Linked DNA regions of Homo sapiens: regions 2, 3, 4, 5, 6 and 7 are each linked to region 1. Evidence: promoter capture Hi-C in 16 types of primary human blood cells and fetal thymus (Javierre and others, 2016). All regions are on one chromosome and are shown on one strand. The core of a region is centred on a gene start or on the middle of the fragment in contact, and the rest is flanking DNA. Distances in the headings are between cores, read along the strand shown. Region 1 holds the start of POLR3A (RNA polymerase III subunit A). Region 2 overlaps ZMIZ1 (zinc finger MIZ-type containing 1). Region 3 overlaps ZMIZ1 (zinc finger MIZ-type containing 1). Region 4 overlaps ZMIZ1 (zinc finger MIZ-type containing 1). Region 5 overlaps ZMIZ1 (zinc finger MIZ-type containing 1). Region 6 overlaps ZMIZ1 (zinc finger MIZ-type containing 1). Region 7 overlaps ZMIZ1 (zinc finger MIZ-type containing 1).

What was found. Contacts are between HindIII fragments. The CHiCAGO score rates a contact against its expected background, and 5 or more counts as called.
Region 2: a contact is called between a fragment that was not itself captured here and the fragment with the promoter of POLR3A in region 1, in 13 of 17 cell types (total CD4 T cells, naive CD8 T cells, naive CD4 T cells and 10 more). The highest score is 46.6, in total CD4 T cells.
Region 3: a fragment that was not itself captured here is called in contact with the fragment with the promoter of POLR3A in region 1 in 6 of 17 cell types (total B cells, activated CD4 T cells, total CD4 T cells and 3 more); the score reaches 11.6 in total B cells.
Region 4: a contact is called between a fragment that was not itself captured here and the fragment with the promoter of POLR3A in region 1, in 4 of 17 cell types (total CD8 T cells, naive CD4 T cells, naive CD8 T cells and 1 more). The highest score is 6.9, in total CD8 T cells.
Region 5: a fragment that was not itself captured here is called in contact with the fragment with the promoter of POLR3A in region 1 in 4 of 17 cell types (naive CD8 T cells, activated CD4 T cells, total CD4 T cells and 1 more); the score reaches 6.7 in naive CD8 T cells.
Region 6: a fragment that was not itself captured here is called in contact with the fragment with the promoter of POLR3A in region 1 in 1 of 17 cell types (total B cells); the score reaches 7.9 in total B cells.
Region 7: a fragment that was not itself captured here is called in contact with the fragment with the promoter of POLR3A in region 1 in 12 of 17 cell types (naive CD8 T cells, activated CD4 T cells, total B cells and 9 more); the score reaches 13.9 in naive CD8 T cells.

What each region holds. Positions count from the first base shown.
Region 1 is chr10:78,027,894-78,031,100 of GRCh38, reverse strand. POLR3A (RNA polymerase III subunit A) reads left to right here and starts at 1,586. Exons shown (of 31, transcript NM_007055.4): 1 at 1,586-1,737. The coding sequence starts at 1,694. RefSeq lists an enhancer at 1,417-1,666. The HindIII fragment of the contact is 13,008 bases long and covers 1-3,207 here.
Region 2 is chr10:79,191,927-79,195,005 of GRCh38, reverse strand. The region is part of intron 4 of ZMIZ1 (zinc finger MIZ-type containing 1); the gene reads right to left. Among named protein-coding and RNA genes, the nearest start is that of ZMIZ1, 120 kb to the right of the region's middle. The HindIII fragment of the contact is 2,386 bases long and covers 119-2,504 here.
Region 3 is chr10:79,231,850-79,235,386 of GRCh38, reverse strand. All of the region lies in intron 7 of ZMIZ1 (zinc finger MIZ-type containing 1), which reads right to left. Among named protein-coding and RNA genes, the nearest start is that of PPIF, 110 kb to the left of the region's middle. The HindIII fragment of the contact is 5,014 bases long and covers 1-3,537 here.
Region 4 is chr10:79,168,278-79,171,369 of GRCh38, reverse strand. All of the region lies in intron 4 of ZMIZ1 (zinc finger MIZ-type containing 1), which reads right to left. Among named protein-coding and RNA genes, the nearest start is that of ZMIZ1, 100 kb to the right of the region's middle. RefSeq lists an enhancer at 1-342. The HindIII fragment of the contact is 2,154 bases long and covers 286-2,439 here.
Region 5 is chr10:79,306,887-79,310,013 of GRCh38, reverse strand. It overlaps ZMIZ1 (zinc finger MIZ-type containing 1), which reads right to left. Exons shown (of 25, transcript NM_020338.4): 23 at 2,443-2,609. Among named protein-coding and RNA genes, the nearest start is that of PPIF, 39 kb to the left of the region's middle. The HindIII fragment of the contact is 1,086 bases long and covers 1,135-2,220 here.
Region 6 is chr10:79,248,431-79,251,952 of GRCh38, reverse strand. The region is part of intron 7 of ZMIZ1 (zinc finger MIZ-type containing 1); the gene reads right to left. Among named protein-coding and RNA genes, the nearest start is that of PPIF, 97 kb to the left of the region's middle. RefSeq lists enhancers at 1,282-1,361, 2,772-2,821, 2,071-2,984, 2,985-3,522 and a cis regulatory region at 3,106-3,522. The HindIII fragment of the contact is 1,984 bases long and covers 770-2,753 here.
Region 7 is chr10:79,212,254-79,215,387 of GRCh38, reverse strand. All of the region lies in intron 6 of ZMIZ1 (zinc finger MIZ-type containing 1), which reads right to left. Among named protein-coding and RNA genes, the nearest start is that of PPIF, 130 kb to the left of the region's middle. The HindIII fragment of the contact is 8,674 bases long and covers 1-3,134 here.

The DNA of each region.
Region 1 (3,207 bases), core at 337-2,836:
CCTGGGATTACAGGCGCACACCACCAACCCCAGCTAATTTTTGTATTTTTAGTAGAGATGGGGTTTCACCATGTTGACCAGGCTGGTCCCGAACTCCTGACCTCAGGTGATCCGCCCACCTTGGCCTCCCAAAGTGCTAGGATTACAGGCGTGAGCCACCACGCCTGGCTGCCTACACAACTTTAAATGGTGAAAGCTAGACTCCCATGATGGCACTGTGATTTCATAACTTTTGCTCTTAACCTCTAGATAAGTCACACACGATCCAACCCTTGTTGGTATAATATTGTAAACATCAGAGCCGGGTGTGGTGGCTCACACCTGTAATCCTATCACTTTGGGAGACTGAGGCGGGCGGATCACGAGGTCAGGGATTCGAGACCAGCCTGGCCAACATAGTAAAACCCCGTCTCTACTAAAAATACAAAAATTAGCTGGGCGTGGTGGCGGGCGCTTGTAGTCCCAGCTACTCGGGAGGCTGAGCCAGGAGAATCGCTTGAACCCGGGAGGCGGAGGTTGCGGTGAGCCGAGATTTCGCCACTGCACTCCAGTCTAGGCGACAGAGCGAGACTCCGTCTCAAAAAAAAAAAAAAAAAAAAAACAAAAAAAACCCATAATGTTGACTATATATATATATATATATATATATATATAGTCAACATTATTTCATGATTAAGTGATGGAGTACCGAAATGAGTTAGAAAAACCTGATATGCCTCGTTTGTCTGTGACATTGTGTTTTGCTAGTGAGGATCCATGGCGTCTGAAAATGAGATAGCGTCCCTTCTTAAAAATTGAAAGTTGTTAAACACTTTTGTTAAGTTCTGTTTTGAGTTTCTCACAAATAATGAGGACTTAGTTCTAATTCTAAGCGCTAAGCCCTGTGGTGATGTGATTTCCTTGCTAGGCTCATGCACTAATATATCACACTAGGATCACCTCCCACAAGTTCTCACAGACTGTAGACAACTTATTTCAAGACATGAATGATCTTTACTTTCCATTCTCCCTTTTCTTCTGTAGATTACCATGGCTGTTTTCACTCTAACAGATTTTCAACTGTTTTTGTAATCAATAATGTAAGTTTAATTCTTCCCCCCTCCCTCCAAATAACTTCATGAACTGGAGGCACATGTGCGCCCATATTTTCCGCTCTGTTTTCCTTTGTTGGTCCTCCACAGATAGTGCCCTCTGTTGGATGGGCCGGTTCATTTTAGCTTCCACCTTCCCTTAAAACAATTAGAAGCTCTTAATTTAGATGGTACTGATGTTAATGATGATGATTTTCCATTTTATGCAAGTTTTGGCCCTCTGCTTGTCTAAAAGCCTTGAGGCAAAGAGTTATATGCAGTTTCTCTGCGGGTGTCTGATTACGTGGAGAAATTGACCAGAAATGGGATTTTTAAAATACAGCACACGCCTCGGTGCGGCTTCCAGTAAGCGCCACCAGGTGACGGTGCGGGGAAAGGGAAAAAAAAAAAAAAAAAAGGCATGCCGGAAGTCTCTCTTGACAGACAGACGCGCGGGCGAGTAGCGGAAGAGGAAGCGGACACGTGGGACACTCTACGGTGGCCGAGAGGATGCCGCAGATGTGTTAGCGGCGAGTCCAGAAGCAGCCCCAGGAGGTGCTGGGGGCATCGTTTCTCTAATCTGGCCTCCCGAGTGCCAAGGAGGCGTCCCGGCAGCGGTCATCATGGTGAAGGAGCAGTTCCGGGAGACGGATGTGGCCAAGAAAATGTAAGACGGAGTAAGAGTGGCCAAAGGGCTGAGAAATAGGGCAAGGGGTCCGAGGTCAGCGGTCCCGGGTCTTGCAGGGTCAGAGATGGGGTGCAATGGGAAGGGGAGGGCCAGTAGTCCATAGGTGTGACCAGCGCCCAGAACTACCAGCGTTGGTCAAAGAGCATTGGTCAGGCTGAGGGGATTTCAGCACCTCGAGAGGTCCCTGGACTTGGGCGGAGAAGTCGGAGTGGCCTGAGCCTTAATGATTTGTGCACCCTGGGCCAAAGCTCGCATTCTCCTGAAGTCATACAATGATCCCTGTTCTTCAGCGAACTATCCCCTGCTGCAGCGAGGGGAGCAATCTGGGGCGGGGACTGTCTCTAATTCTGTCAGCCGCAGAGCGTCTGACACGGAGGCAGTAGTTGCTTACCAAAAGGATGGGGTTGCCCACTAGAAAGCTGTACCACAGGCCGACGGATGGCAGTGTCAGAAATAAAGCTGCTATCCGGACTTTTGCCTTCAGAAATACGTTATTAGGCGGTGGCTCCTTCTTAGAGTTCTCGGTAAGAAAGTGAATCCAGCCGGGCGCGGTGGCTTACTCCTGTAATCCCAGCACTTTAGGAGGCCGAAGCGGGTGAATCTCCTGAGCTCAGGAGTTTGAGACTAGCCTGGGCAACGTGGCGAAACCCCGTCTCTATCAAAAATACAAAAATTAGCAGGCGTGGTGGCGCGCCCTTGTGGTCCCAGCTACTCGGGAGGCTGAGGCCGAAAAATCACTTGAGCCTGGGAGGCAGAGGTTGCAGTGGGCAACCTCCTGCATTCCACCCTGAGTGACAGAGTGAGACGGTGTCTCAAAAAAAAAAGTGAATTCATCATTCTTACAGCAGACACTGAGGAGGATACTGCGCGTTATTCCCAGTGTTGGACGTTAAAGATACGGTCTGAATAAAACTTTTACTGCCTAATCTAGTTGGAGAAGGTACACAAGTCAACACTGGGTACGACAAGTGCAATGACAAGGGTAGGTCCAGGGGGTTTTGAGAGCACATAATGGGTCCAGGCAAAAGAAAGCAGACCAAACTGCTTTTTTCAAGGAGCAGACCTGAGGGAGAGAACACAGGTGATCAGAAGGAAGCAGAAGACTTGAAGCTGTGTTAAGAAGTCATCTTGTAGGCAGTGAGGAACCTTTGAAGGATTTTCAACAGGAGAGTATCTTGATAAGAGTTCTCCTTCTGGAAAATCTCTTGATTCATGGTGGAAAGAATTAGAGGTCGAGAGACCTTGAGACGGATATACAGAATGCCTTGCTTGGGCAGCTGTGTGGATGGTTGCCATTCACTAGAACAGGTGTCTTACCTAGGTGAATGCAGCATTCTCCCATGTGGTAGCTCTACATCGACACTGGCCCTTCACACCCACCTGTACACCTGCGCCCAGTCAGATATAATACATTCTCACAAAACAGAGAAAGTGCTTCTGTCAAAGTGC
Region 2 (3,079 bases), core at 62-2,561, 1.2 Mb before region 1:
CTTCTTCTTGCACCTTACGCTTGGCTGGGCTTAGTTGGGCAAATGGAAGTTTTTGGATGGTAACATGGGGTCAGCTCGGTCTTCCCAACTCCCGTGGGACGTCTTTCGGGACCAAGCTTCCATTTACACTTCTCACCACCCAGCAGAGCGAGGGTGTCTATGCTTAGCGGCGCCTGGTGCAGAAGACTAGTTCAAGAAAAGTTAGCGGCTATTATGTATAGAGGGCTGCTTGGAGGATAGAACGTTGAGAGCTGAAAAGGCCTGGGAACACCTGCCTCATGCCCTCATGCAGCAGGGTGGGAAGCGGAGGTGGGGAGAGGAAGAGGACACGGAGGGCATCGTGAGCAGAGCTGGGCTGGAGCCCCTCTGACAGGTCCAAATAGAGCCCTGGATATCTCTGGGCTGCCAAGTCAGCAAGGAGAGAAGCATCTCAACGGTCTCAACGGCTGGGGGAGGCAAACAGCCCTCAGGGGGCTCCTCACTGGACACAGGGATGAGGTGCTTCTAGCTGCCCCACAGAAATGTGGAGCTCCACAGGCAGCTAGCTCCCAAGGGTGGCAGCCAACCGAACAGTCAGCTGTCCCAACACAAGTGTTTTATTTCCCACCTTTGAGGCCTCACTAGTTCATCAGTCCACATAATGCACACGCACCCAGAGAGAGGCGTCTGCACAGCACACGTGTGCATAGGCACATACACATGTGACCCCTTGCATACTTCACAGCAGGTATGTGCACATGCTGGATGCCAACACAGATGCACTTGAGCACACACATCTCATGACAGCTTGCACAGGCAAGTGGGGGTCCCCGGGGAGCTGTGTGAGCAGTGGTGTGCAGAAATGATTCAATCACCATGCACATCTGCAGCTTAGGTCCCCTGGGGCAAGCGGTGCCAGTGGCAGGAGTGGGCAGCTCTGCCTACAGCCCGCGAGCAGAGGCTGCGTTCCAAGACACAGCCAGAAGGGAAAGCCTAGGGGTCCAGAGGACATCCCAGACAGCCCCTTCATCAGCCTTAGACTCCCAAAGGGACAAACTTCATGAGCCCTGGGCTCAGCAATGACCTGCCAACCTGCACATGTCAGCATCAGTTGGGATCCTTTTCGGCCTGGCCCCTAGCCCTCACTACTCTCAGTCACATCCCTTGTCCCCAACGTGGGGCTGCTCCCTGCCTCCCGGACTGTGCTCTGAAGATCGCACCTCCATGTCTTTGCCTCTGACTGTCCCTCTGCCCGCAATGCCTGGACACCTCCCATCCATCAGGGTATGGCTCAACTGTCACTCTTTCGTGCTCTTTCTTGGTTTCCATCCCTATCCCCTCCATGTCGCTGTCACACACCCCCATCGTAGCAGCACTAGATGAGGGCTGACTCCTTGCAACTGTCTCTCCATCAGCTGGAATGTCTTCCAGTTACAGATCCCTTAGTCTAGCCCAGGGCTCCGTACTCAGCAGGTACTCATTAGATGGGTGAACAGGCAGGTGGACGCACGCCCATTGCTGGGTGTACATGAGAACCAGGGTGGTGAGAGCTGAAAAACCCATCACCCAGCCATAATCAGAAGATCCTAGGACTCAGAGAGACACTGGTTACCCCGTTGAGGGTTCCCAAAGAGAGATACATGTACTTCTGGTGGGATAACGATGACTTTAGAAGGTCCATGGACAAACCTTTTACATTCTCATAGTGAAGTTTTTGGACTGATGAGTTCATGAATGTTATTATTTAGCATGCAGTTAAATTAGGTAGCAATAGCAGACCTAAGTGAATTAAAGAATTGTTTTAAACATAGTATGAACGGAATGAAAGTGACCAAGGTTAGGCAAGCACTGATGTAGACTGATGACTTCCTCACCTTAAAGGTAATGAGTAGAAGCTCAGAGAGGTGTGGAAGCTGCCTGTGGTCACGTCGCAGGTGGCTCGCGCATTCCCAAACCTCGGTAGCCTGCACCAGGCACACGGGCTGGATGCAGAGGAAGAGGGTGGTGGTGAAGCAAGGACAGTAGGAGAGTGACTTTGTGCCCTACCTCAGGGAAGTCAGAAAGAAGGGCAGAGAGACAGGAGACGAGATGGGGAGAGGGATGGAAGAGGCAGCTCCGGGCAGCTGCACAGGGCCAGCTGCTTCCAGCTCTTAGCAGGACAACTGGAGCAGGCCCTCGGGCCAGCGTGAGTCATTGCACAGGGTGGGGCCCCTGGGTAGGCAGTGGTCCTGAGAGCCAGACCTCCTGGCTATGAGGTTGTGGGAGGGTATTTCACCTTCCTGAGCCTGCATCCTCATCTGTCAAGCAGGAAAGTCCATCTCCTCCCTGCCCCACTGTGTTGAGGAGCTGAGCAAATGAATACTTAGGGGACAGTGTTTTAAAAAGTGAAATTCTGCATTCGGACCACAACTCTTCAGAATTCAGTCCCTCCTTCCTCAACCAGGGCAGTGCTCCTGTGCCAAGACTTGACACGGCTCCACACTGCCCCACCAGAGTTCAGATGCTTTGGCTTGGCACTCAAAGCTTCCGGAAGGGTGGACCCACTTCTCTTCATGATCCAATCTCCCAACACCCATCCTTGTTCACGGGAACACCCATTGTCAATGCTGGCTAGTGGGATAACATAATGTAACCTTGGCATTTCAGAGTGGGGGCTTCATGACAGTCAGCCCCACACAGCTATGCCTAGCAACCTGCCCTGGGACACAGAAGTTAATTCAGAAGTGACAGTTTCCTGGGGAAACACTCAGTGATGTGGCCCTGACAAAGGGGCCAGCCCACTGACCCAACCCACACAGGGCTGGGATCCTAGCTGCATTTGGTGTGCCTTGTCTTTCTGGGCACATGGCACTTTAGAGGAGGCCATGCCCTTGAGGCCAAACCCCCCTGCCATCCTCTGGCCATACTCCAAATCCCTGACCTCACAGTGAACTTTCTCTGACAGCTTCTCTTCCCCAGAGGCAAAGGAGGGTTGGATTCAGCTCTGGAGAAGGCCCCTTGGGCTTTCTCTCATTCCCAAGGAGGCCACACCCCTACACTTTGTTTCCTCAGAGTGGAAAGAGGTACTGAACAACTATCAAACCTATATGTGCTAAACACT
Region 3 (3,537 bases), core at 397-2,896, 1.2 Mb before region 1:
GGCAGCAATTGCGCGGTTTTAGGAACCTCCCAAGCCCATGAAAAGTTTGCCAGGAGTCCTTCATCACCCGGTGCAGCCTTCCTGCCTTCCTTTCACCACCCCGTGTGAGAGGAGGTTCTCCGGGTGCCTGCTCCCTTCCAGCCCCTTGTTCCTGGTCCATGGCAGATGAGGGGAGCCAGCGGCTTCCTTCATTCCCCAGTGTGGTCCCAGGTGTCCCCCACCTCCAGGGGCTCTGGACATGAGCTGACAGGCTGCACAGGAATGTCTGGGAGAAATCCAAAGGTGGCCGCCAGGGCAGGGCAAGGAGTGGGAGGCCTGATGTTGAAATCAGGGCCTGCAGAGCTGAGCTCACAGAACTGCGTGCTCTTTGGCCCAGGAGGCCAAGTCCCCAACTGAGACAGATGCTACCTGGAAAGGGGCTTGGGAGCTTGCTGTGTGACCAGGTGCAGGTCACTGTCCCTCTCTGGACCCTAATCCCCTCTCCCCCAGTGAAGACATCTAGTGTAGATGCCATACCTCTCTTTGCTGCCGGGGGCACTGGCCTCCCCAAGTCTGGCTGGGTAGGCTCCAAGAAGAAATGTCATTATTGAACTGACTCCTGCTAATTCCCTGTAAAGGCCGGAGTAGGCTGACAGGTGGGCCAGGCAAGAGGTCTACAACACACATCATTTTGTCAAGGCAAAGACGCTGGTTCCAAGGTGGCAGGCCCTCTATGGTTCCATTCTCCTATATTTATTTGTGGTTTATCTGTTAAGTATGTTTATCTATTAAGTATGTTAAATGTTTCCTGCATGACTAATGGATATTCACCAAGTTATTCCACAGTGGTGGGATGTCAGCTTTACTTTCTTATAATTTTCTGTATTCCTTGATTGTCCTACACATAGTATGTATTATCTTTGGACTTACAAGAAAAATTCCATAAAACCACTTTCATTTCAGAATGAAATCCAAAGTTAAGACCTTTTCCCTGGGAAAGGTGCTGTGTACCATCCATCCTCAGAACTGGTAAGTCAAGAGTCAAGCATAAAACAGCCATGTCACCACCTGAGCTTCCGAGGCCCAGGGAAGGGCGTGGGCACGAGGCATTGCTGGGGAGTCACCTCTGCTTCTCTCCCTCCACACACGGCACACTTCCACCCCAGCAGACTGGTGTCCTGGCATCCTGGCAACTGCACCAGCCTCCAAACTATGTTCTCTGCCTCTAGCACCCAAGTCCCTCCTCTACCTGCTGAGGCAAATCTGACCATGTCATCCCTTGTCTAAAACGTTCTTTCGCTCCCCAGGGGTGTCAAGATCAAGTTCAAGCTCCTTAGATTGGCATTCAAGGACTCAGATGATGTGGTCCCTAGAAGTGTCATGCCTGGTCTCCAGGAGGGCCATCTTGCTGCCCTCAGCCTGGGTTGCTCTCGCCTGACTCCCCCGGCAAGACCCTTAAAGACATATATACACTCTGGTTTGCCCAACTTCACTAGAGCCCCTGCTCTCCCAAAAGATCCATATGCCGATCAAAGTGTTGGGCAGCAGCTGGGTGCCAGCCTGCAGCTAGGAGGGGAAACTGCTGCAAATCCAGGGGTGGCAGAGGGAAGCTGAGGCCCCCCCACCCTCCCTACCAATCTTTGGGCTTTTCCAGAGGATGAGGAGCCAGGCCCCTGCTGATGAATTTGAAAGGGAAGGTGAGCTGTGGGCCAGCAGTCTGGGGTGACGCTCTCCAGGAGGGGAAAAAAATCAGGCATGGTGATCTCAGCCCTGTGGATGCTACGGTTTGGGGTTGCTGTGGTCTGAGTGTTTGTGCCTCTCTAAGTTAACGTGTTGAAATCTAATCCATTGAGATGGTACGAAGAGCTGGGGCCTTTGGGAGAGGATTAGGTCATCAGGAATACACCTTCATGAATGGGACCAGTGCCTTATGAAAGAGGCTTGAGGGCGCTCTTTGCACCCATGTGAGGACACAGCCAGAAGGTGCCATCTACGGGGAGCGTGCCCTCACTGGACATCAAATCTGCCAGAGCCTGATCTTGCCTCTGCAACAGGGAGTGATCAATTGCTATTGTTTGTAAGTTACCTAGTCAAAGGTATTTTGCTATAACAGCCTGAACAGACTAAGGCAGGGGCCAAGCAATGCTGCCTGTTCCCTGCCTCAGTCTCCCCAGCTGCGATGCAGGATGCAGGCAGTATTCTGAGAGGCACAGTGGGAAGGCCCAGCCCTGGGAACCAAGCCAGTGCTTCTGCTGCTCCCCCTCAACAAGGGGAGCCCACACCCCCCTTGGGCCCCAGACAAACCTGGGAGTGTGGTGTGTAATTGAATTTGGCCTAATTACCTAATTGCACTGAGGAACAACCAGTACTGACAGAGGCCTTGGTGTCGGGGGCGTGGCTGGAAGCCAGGAGCCAAGAGGGAGCCTCCAGATTCCCCAGGCATTCATGGAACCAGTACTGGGCATCAGTACTTCCTATCACTTAGCCCCTTGGATGCTTGGAACCCCAGGGGGCAGGTGGTGCTGTTCCCATTCCACAGATGAGGAAATGGAGGCTCAAAGTGGCACATCTTGCACAGGGACACCAAGTCAGAAGAAGCAGGAGGGGGTTTAGCTCACATTCCTTCCGCACCTGCACCTTAATATTTTCGTAAAGCTGAAAGGAGAGGATGTGCATGCAGTATTTTGCCTAGCATCTAAAACATGGTAACTCCTTAACTGATTGGCAGTAGTAGTAGGATGATGTTAGGGTTTCACATAAAGGTATGGTGGCAATAATAGCAGGAGTAATGCCAGCCTCGCCCCTGGTACGATGAGGGATGCTGGGAAGATTGCATCCCCCACCCTGTGTCAGTCTCTTCTCAGATTAAACTGGGGCTTGGGCTAGGTGATCCTCAAAGCCCTCTACACTCTGACATTCATGTCAGAGAGGAACAGTAACGATAATGTAACCCTACCACCAATACTTATTATGTATACCTATGAATTATTATGTATCTTGTGACCTCCAAAAATACACCGTCCTCCTGCTTCCCCTTTGCTGTCCAACACACAGTATCCTCCTTCCCATACCAGCCATCTTCCTCCCATAAGTGATTTTTTGAGGGGTGCAGGGGTACCACCCACTCACCTATTCTGTCTCAGTCATTGGGATGTAGCAAATAAGACACTGAGTTTTCACTACATGCAGGGCACAGTTTTCCCTTATATCCTCCCATTTAATCCTCAACGCAGACAGCACCAAACGAGGGTTACAGTTAGCCCCGTTTCCTGATGCAACAGCTGAGGATCAGAGAGGTTAAGTCAGTTCCTTAAAGTCACACAGCTCTAAAGCAGGAGAGCAGGAGGCAAGCTCAAGGTGGCCAACCTCCACTAGATTCTCCAAAAACTGACCCTCCTCCCATCATTCATGGGTCCATTGTTCCTCAAATGATTTCAGCCCAGTGCCTCCACTGGCCACCCAAGAGCCAGCCTCAGTCTCACTGGACTAGCTGCACAGGAGTGGTCAATAGCATTAAAAACACCAGGCATGACCGGGCACGGTGGCTCATGCCTGTAA
Region 4 (3,092 bases), core at 113-2,612, 1.1 Mb before region 1:
GGCCCCCGGCATCCTCTGAGCGACAGCCCAGGCCAGTCCCTAAGTTCTAGGCCCTGGCCTCATCCCCGGTGGAGTGAAGGCCCGGCAGTGAAGAATTCCTTCTCTGGCATTAGCCCAGACCCAGCTGCCTCAAACGAGATCTCATCAGGACAGGGCCAGCTTTTTCACCTCTGCTTATTAACTCCCCTGAGCAGCAGTGAGTGGAAAACGGGAGGGAGCAGGGAGTGTGAGAGCCTTTTCATTTCTGGAGCTCACCGCACTGTGCGTGGATATTTCTGGAAAGCTTCCATGGGGGCTGCCCTGGCTGGGGTGGGAGGACCCATGGGCTGGGAGGGGGTTCTTGATTTAGGCTGACAGTGCGGGTCCAAGAAGGGACCAGTGTTCAGGAGCAGGCAGCCCCTCGGACCTGTCCTGAGATGGCACTCTCTTTTCCTAGGGGCTCAGCAGCTTAAGTTGAGGGCTTAAGCCTGGCGGGGCTGCCCATCCTAGATGGACCACACAACGAGAGGCATGGTGGGCCGCATGGGTTGGCCCAGAGACCAGATTGTGAGCCACGTGGAGCTCCCAGAGCTCACATCCTCCTAGCCAGCACGTTCCACTTTGGGCCTCAGTCTCCTCATCTGTAACAAGACAGGGAGGGCTCTGCGGGGTCATTCTGCAGTTCCAATGCTGCAGGCTTTCATGTGTATTAACTATTAAGGCTCCCAGATGCCTCAGAGGAGCTGCAGGACTGCCCCCACCCACTCTGGCCTCCGCCCTACCTCCCAGTAGGTACCAGTTAGTGATCCAGCTCAGCTTACAGAAAAGATCTCAGATCTGAGTGGACTCCGCTAATGCCTGCAGAGTTAGGGCCTCCTGGAAGGCAAGGGAATGGCCAATAAATGGCATGTGACACCCAGGGAACAGCTTCTCTATCTATCCCTAGGGCTCTGAGGCTGGCAGAAGGCTGCTGAGCCAAATGCTCTGTGGCTAAAAGGAATGGGGCGGAAACCCACAGATCTGCCCCTGGTAGAGGGGACATCAGGGAATGTCTGTCTGATTGTCATGAGGTTTTAAGGGCAGAAAGATCCCTGCCAGGTCATCTAAACCCCTGGTTTATCAGTGTGAAAACTGAGCCACAGAGAGGAACTGGCTTAAGTCTCTAGGCCAGCTCCCCTTTGCAGGCACCAGTGTGTCCCAGATTGGCCAGATCACAGGTATTTTCTGGGGGCATCTGTTTAAAAATTGGAGGCCTAGGCCCAACTCCAGATCTACAGAATCAGACTCCAGGAGAGGGGCCTGGTGATCTGCATTTAAACAGGTGTCCCAGGTGGCCTGGGTGTGCTAGCATGCCTGGGAAGCACTGTGTCTCCATCTCAAAGTATCCTCCTAGAAGTTCCCACTTGAAAGCTCAAGAGAAGACCTGGGGGTCCATTGTCTCTGGAGAGGGAAGTGTCTGGGTCCAGAGCTAACAAATGCCCACCTCAAGCAGATGCTCCTGTTTGAGGGGTGGGAGGTATCTCCCCAAGGGCATCAGTCTGCTGCTAACAGAGAGGACTGGTGCTGTGTAGCTATTGCTGCATTTTATCCTGCCAGGTGGGTGCACTGCACCCCTTTACAGATGAGGAAACAGGTGAGTTGAAGATGAAAGAAACTTGTCCAGACTCACCTGGCTGATAGGTGGAAGAATAGAGATTTGAACCCAGGACTGTCTGTCCCTGAAACCCACACACTTTGACCACACGCCACACTTTATCCTCTATCACACTGAATTTACATGAGCAAAACTGTGTAGTGACTTCTCCAGCAATGGAGGTGTCTGGGCAGCAGCTGGAGGAGTCAATACCAGGGATGAGACGATCTTTATCAGCCCTTCTGGAGCTGTGGCTGTGGACAGGCTAAGCTGGCTACAGGATGCAAGGAAGTCTGTTGCATTTCTTCCATACACAGATAAAAATGCTCCAGATTATTTATAGGTTCTAGTGCATCAAAGTCCTCCTGGCTCAATCCTTGACCACGCTGGAGCTGCCGGGCAGGAGGCAACTGGGAACCCCTACCTGAGAGGGAATTGCTGGGGGCAGAGGCAACGAAGCACAGGGGGCTGGCACCCCAGGTGGTGACAAGGGCAGGGGTCAGGGGTTGTGACGGGAAGTCTGGGTGAGGCCAGGGACCAGAGAAAACTGGCAGGGGCTATTGGCAAGGGCGAGGGCCGTCTCATGCCAGCCTGTCCCACCAACCTGAGGGTGGGCCAGATGGAGGTGGCACCACGGGAGCAATTCACAGAGGTTATGAAGCAGAGATGTTCCCCTAGGCTCCAACAGAGGTCCCTAAAGATGCCTCAGGGGAGCGGTAGACGGTCCCAGAACAGCCGTGAGGCAAGATGTGCTTGCTGTTTCCCAAACTGGAGCTGAAGAAGGGTGAGAAGCACTTAATGGGGGAGGCAGATGTGAGCAAAAAGCTTCCAAAGGCTCAGCAACCATAAATTTCCTGCTCTCCGTTAACCAGTCAGCTCCCTGGGGGCTCTAGAAAGTTTTCTGGGGCCCAGCTCACCCAGCAGCCAGGGTGGACGGACACCTGTGGGGGTCACACTGAGGTCCCTGCCTCTTCTCTCCTCCTGCACTGGCCACAGCCCAGAGCTGAGACATCAGTCAAGCAGACCTGATACCCAGGGAGCAGGGCTGAGAGCGTGACCATGCGCCACACGATGCACAGCATTATTTCTCGTGGAGTCCGCACACAGCCTCCGAATCCTTCTTAATACGGCCCACAAGCACATTAACAACTGGGATGCTAGACATCACCTTGTTGCTATGCCCAGAGGAAGCTGAGGGTGCACAAGCTGGGTGCCTGTCTGTGGCTTTCAGCTGCCCTTCAACACAGAACTGGCCAGGGACTGTGCTGGGGACATGGTTCATAGCCTGCCCTGAGCTTTCAAGGAGTATACAGTCTAGTGGGGAAAGAGCAGATGGCTGGCTTGGAGGAACAGAGACAAAAAAAGGCCATGGGGTGCCTGTGTGCAGATGAAGGAGGGAATGGGCTGGGGAAAGAAAGGGGGGCTGTTGGCTCAGTACACTCAAACTCCGCAGCCCTTGCTGGTGGGAGGAGGTAGGCCC
Region 5 (3,127 bases), core at 428-2,927, 1.3 Mb before region 1:
TGAACATTCCCCTGCTAGCCTGTTTGCTGTCCCAAGCAGATCCTCCTTCAAAGTGAAAGGCCGGGGAATCCTCGCAGACCAAGCCCTGATCCCACTGCAAGCATCCCTGACAGCCCCCAGCCCCACTTTCGCTCTGCCAGTGAGAGGGGCTCACGGATGCTCCAGGTGCTCCACTGGAACAGCAGCCTGGCACATGCTTCCTTGGTCTTTTCATCCCCTCACCCTGCCCCATCCTGGGGCAGCCACACAGAACACACTGACATGTTCTTCCTGTGTGCATTTAGAATTTGCAGCCACACCATCCTCGGTCTTTGCCCATCCCCAACTTCCTTCCTCTTCCTGTTTCTCCTAAAACTGTTTCCCAGGCCTTGCTATGGGTCGGGCTCTGCCCACGGTCCAGGTGTCCCCTTCTCAGGGTGTAGGGCCCCAACCCCATGCGGCCTTAGGGAGCACAGTGCCCTTCCAGTCCAAGCCCCAAGAATGAGACGACCTCGCAACGGTGCTGCTGGAGACCTTGGGAGACCCGTTTATGAGACACATACAAGAGGCTGGAGGAATGGGCCACCACCCATGGTCAGTGAGAGGCCAGCTTAGGGCTCCCACTCCTGTAGATGCCCTCAGTGCCCACCCTGGGAGAGCAGGGAGGGGCTCCACACTCCAGCTGTGCAGCCCAGCTCAAGACAGACAGTCCCTGGATCTTCAGAGGCAGCTGTGCCCCTCAGCTTCGTATCTGGCTGGAATGTCTCCGGCATGGAGGGGCAGGTGCTGTTGGAGCACTGCTGACACACCTGTCAACCCGCCACCAAGTATGGGCAGTCTGTGGGGGCAGCAGCATCTGGATAGAGCGCTCTGGCCAGTCTCTGCGGGCATGGCAGTGCCTCCCAGCCTTGGGCTCAGCTGGGGGTGTGGCTGCCTCCACCTGGGCAGGTGTGGTAGAAGTTTACCTGTGACTGCCCTGCCCCACCGGCCTGGCACATCCGCACTTCCAGGTCTGCTTGCCCTCTAGTGAGAGCTCAGAAATGGAGGACAGGACCATCTAGAGAGCATCTTAAGGGGCTCTGAGGTCAACTCACAGGCTCAGATCAAGCCACACAGAATGCAGGCAGCGGGGCTCACAGAAGGCAGGAGAAAGCTTGATTGTCAAGGGGAAATAGACGGCATCAGCACTCCATATTCCAGTGTTAGGAACTGTGAGGGCGCAGGATGTGTGTGTGTCGGGGGGTGTGATTTTGGTGTCTTCTGGGTGTGGGATGCCCTCAGGGCCCAGGAAGGGGCATCAGGAAAGAAGCCCCCAGAAATCACAAGCCCCATGGGGCAGAGAGTAACTTTGAAAAACTTGGCCAAAGCTCCACAAAGCATCTATTTCCGACTTGGACTCCTGGGGTCCTGAGGGAAAGTTGCTGCTACCTCACCTAGAGTCCTGAGGCAATTCCATGTCAGGTGTGTGGAAGGCAGTATAATCCAGAGGCTCCTTCCTGTGCAGGCCACCCAAGCCCACTGCCAGACTCTGGCAGGACCCCGGGCCCTCTCCCTGGCTGGTGTGGCCCAGGACCCCCAGCCACGTGCTCAGTGATGGCCCCTCCTCCCCAAGATGAGAGCCCAGAATGACTGAGACCTCAGACACACCACTTCAGCCTCCGGAGGCTTCAGTTTCTCCAAACTCCAACTGTTCTTCCTGCACCCACGCACTGCCAGGAGTTTTACTCCATTAGCCCAAGGCCTGTCTGTCTTGCTTACACCTGTCACATGGCCTGCGCAGAGCACAGCTCAAAAAACGCTTGTTAAAATGAGTGGAACCACGTGGCACTCACTGGATGAGGACTCCAGGGGACAGGAGGGCCTCCTGCCACTGCCACTGGGGCCACAGGAAGGGAGGGCCTGTGGACAACACAGGACACCTTACCCCACCAGGGACGTCCTCAGCCACACAGGGCATATGTCGATAAGTGTGAAACAGAATGAGAAGTGAATGCTCTTCAGATAATCAGACTTCCTAGCATTTCTTTTGTTGGAGGTGGTAATACCCTGAATTCAGATCCTTGGAGAATAAGTGCCTGGGTTTGGGACAAAAGTTGAGGTGGCTGGAACCGTGTTAGGTGAGTGTAAGATTGTGCAAGTGGGAGAGGGAGAGGGCTGATGGCGTGTGCTGGGTAGTGGCGAGTGCATGCACGTGTGTGTGTATGCATGGGGTGGTGAGGGTTTGGGGAAGAGCCTGAAGCTTCCCCCATCTCCAGAGAATCCGAAATCCTAGGTAAAACAGCCAAGTCTAAGGACACTGACAGGGCACGACGTAGCCTCAGTTAGACCCCTCCTATTCCATTCTGAGCCCACACACCCAATTCTTCATCCTCTGCCTTGCCTGGGAGGGAACAGGGTATCCAGATCCCAAGGCATCAACCCCAAAGGCTGGGGAATGGAATGGGGTGAGGAGGAGGTACTCACAGTTTCCTGCATGGGGTGGCTGAGGGGTTTCTCGAGGGCGGCCATGTTGTTGGGCATGTCCGGGGGGTGGGAGAGCTGGGGGGGCCCGTGCATGAAGTCATTCATGGATGTCCCTCCAGGGTTCCCGTGGGGGAAGTCAAAGTTGCCATGGCCTTGGTAGTTGTTGCCTAGGAAGGGATGAGATGGGGAGGGGAGGGGGTCACCCAGAGGGATAGTGGCCACCCCCAGGGAACAGAGAGTGTGTAAAAATACAAGCCAAGTCCTTTTCCTCTTGCGAGGCTGTAGTAGGTCACAGCAGCCCGAGGCTTCCGGGCTGTAGGATAGAGCAGCCACTCAGCCCTGTCCCGTGGTCTGTGGTACCCTAGGGGATGTGCTGCCCCTACTGCTATGGAGGAGGGGGCAGAGTGGGACAAAGGGGGCGGGCCAGGCTCCTGTGGGGAGTGGGGGACATGGCCTGAGCCTAGAGCAGACCTGCTGAGCTACTCCCCAATGTGGGCACTTTTCATACCCAGCAAGACCCAGGCCCAGAGTGGGTGCATGTTCTGCCAAGCCCACAAAGAAAGCTGCAGCAGACTCAGGATGACACCCGCAGAAGCCAGCTGTTCCGCCTCCCTGGTCACTGTGCCCTCCACCATGTGGCGATGGCAAGGGTCAGAGGATCAGCAGACTGGGAGGCTTGGCCCTT
Region 6 (3,522 bases), core at 512-3,011, 1.2 Mb before region 1:
TCCTAGAAGCCACTAAGGACCCAACGGTCAAGGCTGCCATGGTTCTAGTAAGGTGGGGATAGGGCGTTTCTCTGTTTTGGGTGCTGCTGCCCTGACCCCCTGGGACAATGGCTTCTGTCCGTTTTCCAGGGCATCCCGGGACTGCCCAGTAACTTTCTGAGCCTGTTGCTGGCAAATCAAATGAAGACATACCTGAGAGTTACACAAGCTGTCCCCACTCCCTGCAGGGAAGACACAAGCCTTTGCTCAGCAAACACTGAGTGAGCCCTGAGCTTCTGGCCAAGAGCCCTGGGGCCCTGGCTGGAGGCAGGGGGACTATTTGCTCCAAGATGTCTCAGGCTCTTGGAGAAGATGGGCATTCTGCATGTTCTACCAGTTCGGGGCTCATGCTGGAGAAAAGGTACCCCCAACAGATGTATGGGGTGAGGGGTTGGGGGAGTGTCTGGATAGGCTGGGCTGCAATGGACAATAAAGAGGCCCCAAAGCTGGGGAGCAGGAGGACAAGTGACCCAGAGGAACACGCCTCCCACAAACATGAGGAGAACCACGTAGAGCAGGAAGGGTAGCTCATGTTTGCTCAGGGGCGATGAGATCCCAGCACTGTGCTCAAGGTGCTGGCTGGAATGAGCTCTTTAATCCTCCCACAGCCCTAGGGGATGAGTACTAGTCTCCGGTTCTACAGATGAGGAAACTGAGGCTTAGACAGGGTGAGAGGTCCCGGTGTGTGGAGAAGACAGGAGAGGAGGGGGACAGACGTAGGGAGCAAGCTTGGGAGGGCACCTTTGTGGGGTGAGGGCCTCTCGCTCCTAACAGTGGGGAGCCACAGGAGGGCCATCCCATCCCCACCTGGAAACCCCCAATTCAGTGCAGTGCCCAGTCTTCACCTCCTCGATCTCTACAATGGCCACAAGTCCCCAGCAAGCCCCTCCCCTTTTGGCCCCCCAGCTTCCTGTGCCTTCTCCCTGCGCGTGGTCTGTTCCCCAGGATGGTCTTCCGGCCTTGCGCCTGAAGGCTGTTCTGTCTCCCAGTACCCATCCCGACACCAAGGACACCGTGGGTGCCAGGACCTAGGGTTTGACAAGAAGCCGTGTGTTGGCTCCTGGGACCCTTCCCCAGCTCCCAGAATTTCCTCTCAGCGAGGGGTTCTCCAGGCACCCTTTGGGCACCTGAAAGCCAAGGCTGGACTCACAGTCCTTATTCTGCAAGCCCACTCTCACTAGGATGGCTGGACCCCAAGGGCCACCTCAACATGGCTCGACTCACAGACCCTCTGCCCAGAAATGCAGGGGCTCACAGACCCTGACAAACTATGGGTAGACCTCAAGGAAGAAGTCCTTGTGCAAATCACTGGCGGGCTTCAGAAGTCCAGGGTGCAGACTCTCACCTCTCATTCCCCAAGAGGGAAATGAAAGTGGGCACGTGGGTGCCGGCCACGCTTACTTCCTCCAGAGCTGACACATGCTAGGACCTCCCTGATGGCTGCCGGAGGGACAGCCAGGCAGCTTCTCTCTGGGACAGACAAGTGGCAAGCACACTTGTGCCCCTCTGTCCCCTGACCTTCTCAGGCTCTCCTGTTACAGTGGCCATGCTGGAAGGAGGGATAAGCCCCCAGATGGCACCACCCTCCACAGGGCACAGCAAGGTCTCCAGCTGCAACACAGGGCAAGGACAGGCAGGAGTACTGTACAGATGAGAAAACTGAGGCTCAGACAGAAGGGGGCTGGTGGTGGAGCTGGGTGGAGAGAACCCAGTCTCGGGCTCAGGAACTTGAGGGGAACCTAATGCCCAGCCAGTTTTGGAACTAAGCCCATGCTGCGAGGGGATGAATCCACCTGACAGTGATGAAAGCTGCCAGCTACTGAGACGTTACTATGGGCCAGATACCAACCTAAGCGCCTTTTAGCCCCATCTCATTTACTCCCCACTGCAACCCTGCCAGGCAGGGACAAGTAGCTCTACTGCACTGATCAGGAAACAGAGGCTCAGAGAACCTTGGTGACTTACTCAAAGTCACCTGGTAAATGACAGATGTGGGTTTCATAATTACTGTCTGACACTGGCTTGGGAAGGACACCGGGTGGCCCCATTTTAAGAGCCCCGGGTAGTTGGGCAGGGAGGTCCCTCGTGCATTGGGGGGAAAGGGAGAGGAGCAGTCACCAGAGCTGCCAACAGGGTAGGCCCGCGGGCCACAGAGTGACCACTTCAGGCACAGCACTGCCAACAGATCTTTCTACCATGATGGGAACATTCCACCACTGCACTGTCCAATCTGGTAGCCACTAGCCCGTGAAATGTGACTACTGTGACTGAGGAACTGAAAACTTCATTTAATTTTACTAATGTACATTTAAATACATGTGTGGCTGCTATACTGGACAGCACAGTAAATCCCACGCTGCTCCTTACAAGCAGGGACCTCAAGAAAGGCAGGCACCCCTCACATCACACAGACAAGCTGGGGAGCCAGAGCTGGGCCAAGACCTCGAGCCTTTCAATTCCTGCCTGGGTGACCAGGGCCGCCATGTCCTCATGCTCCGGGCTGGCCATCTGACAGACATTTACGCAGCACCCAGCGTGGATGCAAGTCACGAACCGCCTGTCCTTCAAGTCAGTGTAGTGGGCTGACACCCAGGTGGGCAAGGGATGACAGGAAGCTACTGATGTACAGCGCTGGATCCTGGATGTGCACAGGAGCTAAGGACCGCAAGGAGACAGTGGCCCCGGACGCTGGGTGTGGGGATCCAGGGAAAGCTTCCTGGGCCATGCCATGGCATTAGAGCTGGGCCTGGAAGCAGCAGAAGTGAGAGGCAGGAAAAAGGGCTCCTTGGGCTTCCTTTTTCCTTCCTCTCTGAAACATGCCCCCCATTTTTTCACAGTCCTGGCCTCCCACACACAGGGGTTGAACCAGACCTTGCTAAATCTTCTGCGCACAGTGAAGCTGCCCATCAGATCATAAGCTCTTGGGAGGCAGACAGGGAGCTGGTAAATCACTAGTGCCTCAGGCTCTGACCCAGGGAGCAGGGATTCAACACTGGAGCCCTGGGAGGGTGGGAGACCAACTCTGCAAGCCCAGAGACTACCCGCTGGCACCCATCCACTCCAGTCCCAGCCCCAGGGAAATGCACACATTGATTTAAAGCCTCCTGGGCCTGGCTAGAATCCCCCGAGGGACTAGGGAGAGACTCCACAAACAGGACTGCCTCTCTTTTCCAGGAGAGCAGAGGACTGTTGTGGGGAGGTCTGGACAAGCTCCATCCAGTTCCCGGAGCTCCTCAGAAGGCAGAGCTGGCTGCCCTCGCCCCCCACCATGGGCAACCACAAAACAGGAACCCTGAAACAAGACGAGGCTTTCCATTGCGTCAGCAGGGGCAGGGACATTCCCACAGCAGGACGCCGACCTCGCACTACTCCCAACTTCTATGCCCGATTCCTGCCTGCTACTCAGCAGCAGCCCTGCTCCTAGAAGCAGGAGGAGTCCCAGTGCCTCTGAGGCTCCAAAGCCTTTGATGGCTCCCCACTGCC
Region 7 (3,134 bases), core at 403-2,902, 1.2 Mb before region 1:
GGGGAAGTTGCAGTGGGCCTAGATCGCACCACTGCACTCCAGCCTGGGCAGAACAGCAAGACTCCTTCTCAAAAAAAAAAAAAAAGCGGTGATTTAGAACAAGCTGCTTCCCACAGGGCTTCAGGTCAGAGCTGCTTAATCGACTAAGGCTTCCGGGATGGGGCAGGCATTGTAATGCTGCTCCGTGCCAAGCACCCTGCAGCCCCCTCAACCTCAGCTAGAAACCGCAGGACTCCCACGCTCAGCCTGGGGTCTGTCTCTAGCCTTAAGCCCCAGCAAATGGGGGGCTTCCATAACAGCAATGGTGTGTTTGGAGCCTGAAGGTCCCACCCATCTCCTTAAAATCTCAGAAGTAGGGACTGGCAGGGTGAGAGGCGGCAGACTGGGAGGGCCATCGGTCCCCTGGGGGGCAGTGTGGGACGGGGCGCTCCAGGGGACCCTTGGGTGGCTTTGCAAGCTGTTGCCGCTCTGGCTTCACTCTGTCCCCACCCATTCCCAGGTGTCCCATGACTCCCAGATCTGCTCCCTCACACCCGCCTTCCTCATGAACAGCAGCAAAATTAGCTTTCTTTATTAAGAAGGACCTTGGAAAATGGAGTCATTTAGAAAGCAGCTGGAGTGGCTATGGCTGAGTAGGGAGAGCACCCAGATGTGGTAGGCTGGTACTTCTGAAAAAGGGGGGACTCTGCTGCCAAGCCCCCAGGAACCACCTGCTCCAGAGGCGCCTGGAGGGGCCTCAGACTGCCATGGGGTTTGGCCTGGCCCCTAGATCCAACAGAATCGTTCCCCACGCCTGCCTTAAATCTCAGGAATTTGTGAAAGGGGCTCTGGGGCTAAAAGGGCTGGGAACACCACTTACCTAGGCCAATTTAAAACAACACTGGAGACTCAGAGAAATGTCCCGTGCTAAATCAGGGAGGAGCCAATGGGTTCCCCTTCCCAGGATCACCAGTGACTCTTGGAATGGGACTGTGGCCCTCCCTGCGCCCCTCTGTGTAGGGCTAATGTTTGAGCCAGGTTGGGAGGAAAAAGGATGTTGTTAGGTTAGGATGCTTGCTCAACGTCTCTGCTGCAAACAGAAGCCCCTGGCACAGAAGTCTTCCACACTCCTTAGGCCTCTTTCCCACGGGCTCTGTTTGCCCCTCTACATGTCCCAGTCTCTGGGACATCCTCACCATAAGTCTCACTGTCCACATAGAAAAACCAAGGTCCCTAACTCTTTATGGCCTGTTGAATATTTCAAGTCTGCAGGCAGACTCTCCTCCAGAGAGTGAGGAGGAAGATTCTGGGCTGGAGGGACCACTGCAGCTCATACGTGGACTCTGGTGCCCTCCCTCTTTGTAGAACTTCAGGTGGATGCCTGTGAGCACAGAGCGGCCTGTTTCGACTGGTGCAGTAGTGAGGCTGCTGTCAATGGGAAACACTGATGCTTACAAGTGCTGCAGTGAAAATGCTGGCTCCCACGTACATAGGTGCTTTGTATGCAACAAAGTGCAAATTCTTTCAGCAGCTCCACGAGATAGGTATTATTATTATTATCTCTGATTTACAGATGAGGAAAGAGGTTGAACAACACCTCAAAGCTGGTCAGTGACAGAGACAGGATGTGATCCAGGCAGTCTAGCTGAAAACTCTGGGCTCTTTCTGTGCTAAGACTTCTTTCTCAGTCCACAAAGGGTTAACGCCATAACTTCCAACCTGCACTGAGGACCCTCAGGCCCTGGGTTCAGGGCAGGAAGGCAAAAGTCCCCATGTTTGGCCAATACTGGCTAATCCTGTTGCTCTAGTTAAAAAGGAAAAAATACTAGCTAACTTGAGCTAGAGGGGCTTGGTGCTGTATGGCGGCTCTAAGGGCCAGCCGGGTGGGTGCTGGAGCAGGGAGTCTCTGCTTGTCACCAAGTCCCCTGTGCCCCAGCATTCAGAAGGGTCACTGGCTCCAATAGCCTCCTTTCACTGATGAGGAAGTCAAGGCCCAGAGAGGGCAGGACCGTGCTCAAGGCCACAGAGCACAGGTATGGCAGAGTGAGCTGAATCAAATCCTGTAACCCTAGAGTGCCTCATGCATTCCTATCCCCTGGGTTCCTCTGGCCCAGCCTGAGGACCCCCAGAAAGTTCTGTGAGGCAAGGTCTGACTGACAGTGGTGGGAGCGTGGGCTCAGCTGTGCAGCTTGTTTTTCAGAGAGGCCCATTCTCACCCCAGTGGTCATGATGCTCTCTGTGAAGGTCCTATAGGGTGCAAGGCCCCCTCCCCATAAAGGCCAGTGTGAGTGGCTGGGGCGCTGTGACCCTCTGTTGGCTGTCCAGGTACTGCTGCTTGACCCACGGTGGCGGGGTGGGGGTGGCAGGGGGAAGCACTCCTGAGGCTGCCCTGTCATCCTGGCTGCCAGACACCTAGACCCCTAGAGCCAGGGGACCTCACAGGTCAGGGAACCCAGCCTCACGCCACAGACAGGGAAACTAAAGTCCAGACACAAGACGGAGAACTTGACTGGGTATGGTGGCTCACACCTGTAATCCCAGCACTTTGGGAGGCTGAGGCAGGATAGCTTACACCCAAGAGTTCAAGACCAGCCTGGCAAACATAGCAAGATCTCATCTGTACACAAATTTTTTTTTTCTTTTTTTTTTTTTTGAGACAGAGTCCCGCTCTGTTGCCCAGGCTGCAGTGCAATGGCACGATTTCAGCTCAGTGCAACCTCCGCCTCCTGAGTTCAAGGAATTCTCCTACCTCAGCTACCCGAGTAGCTGGGATTACAGGCGTGTGCCACCACGTCCAGCTAATTTTCTTTTGTACTTTTAGTAGAGACAGGGTTTCACCATGTTGGCTAGGCTGGTCTTTAACTCCTGACCTCAGGTGTGCTTGGGATTATAGGCATGAGCCACCATGCCCAGCCCCATCTGTGCAAAAAATTTTTTAATCTGGTGTGATGGTGTAGGCCAGTGGTACCTAGGTACTTAGGAGGCTGAGGTGGGAGGATCATTTGAACCCAGGAGTTTGAGACCATCCTGGGCAACATAGCAAGGCCCCACCTTTAAGAAAAAAATTAAAAAAAAATTTAAAAATTGGCCTGGCATGGTGGCAGGTGCCTGTAGTCCCAGTTACCCAGGAGGCTGAGGCAGGAGGATCGCTTAAG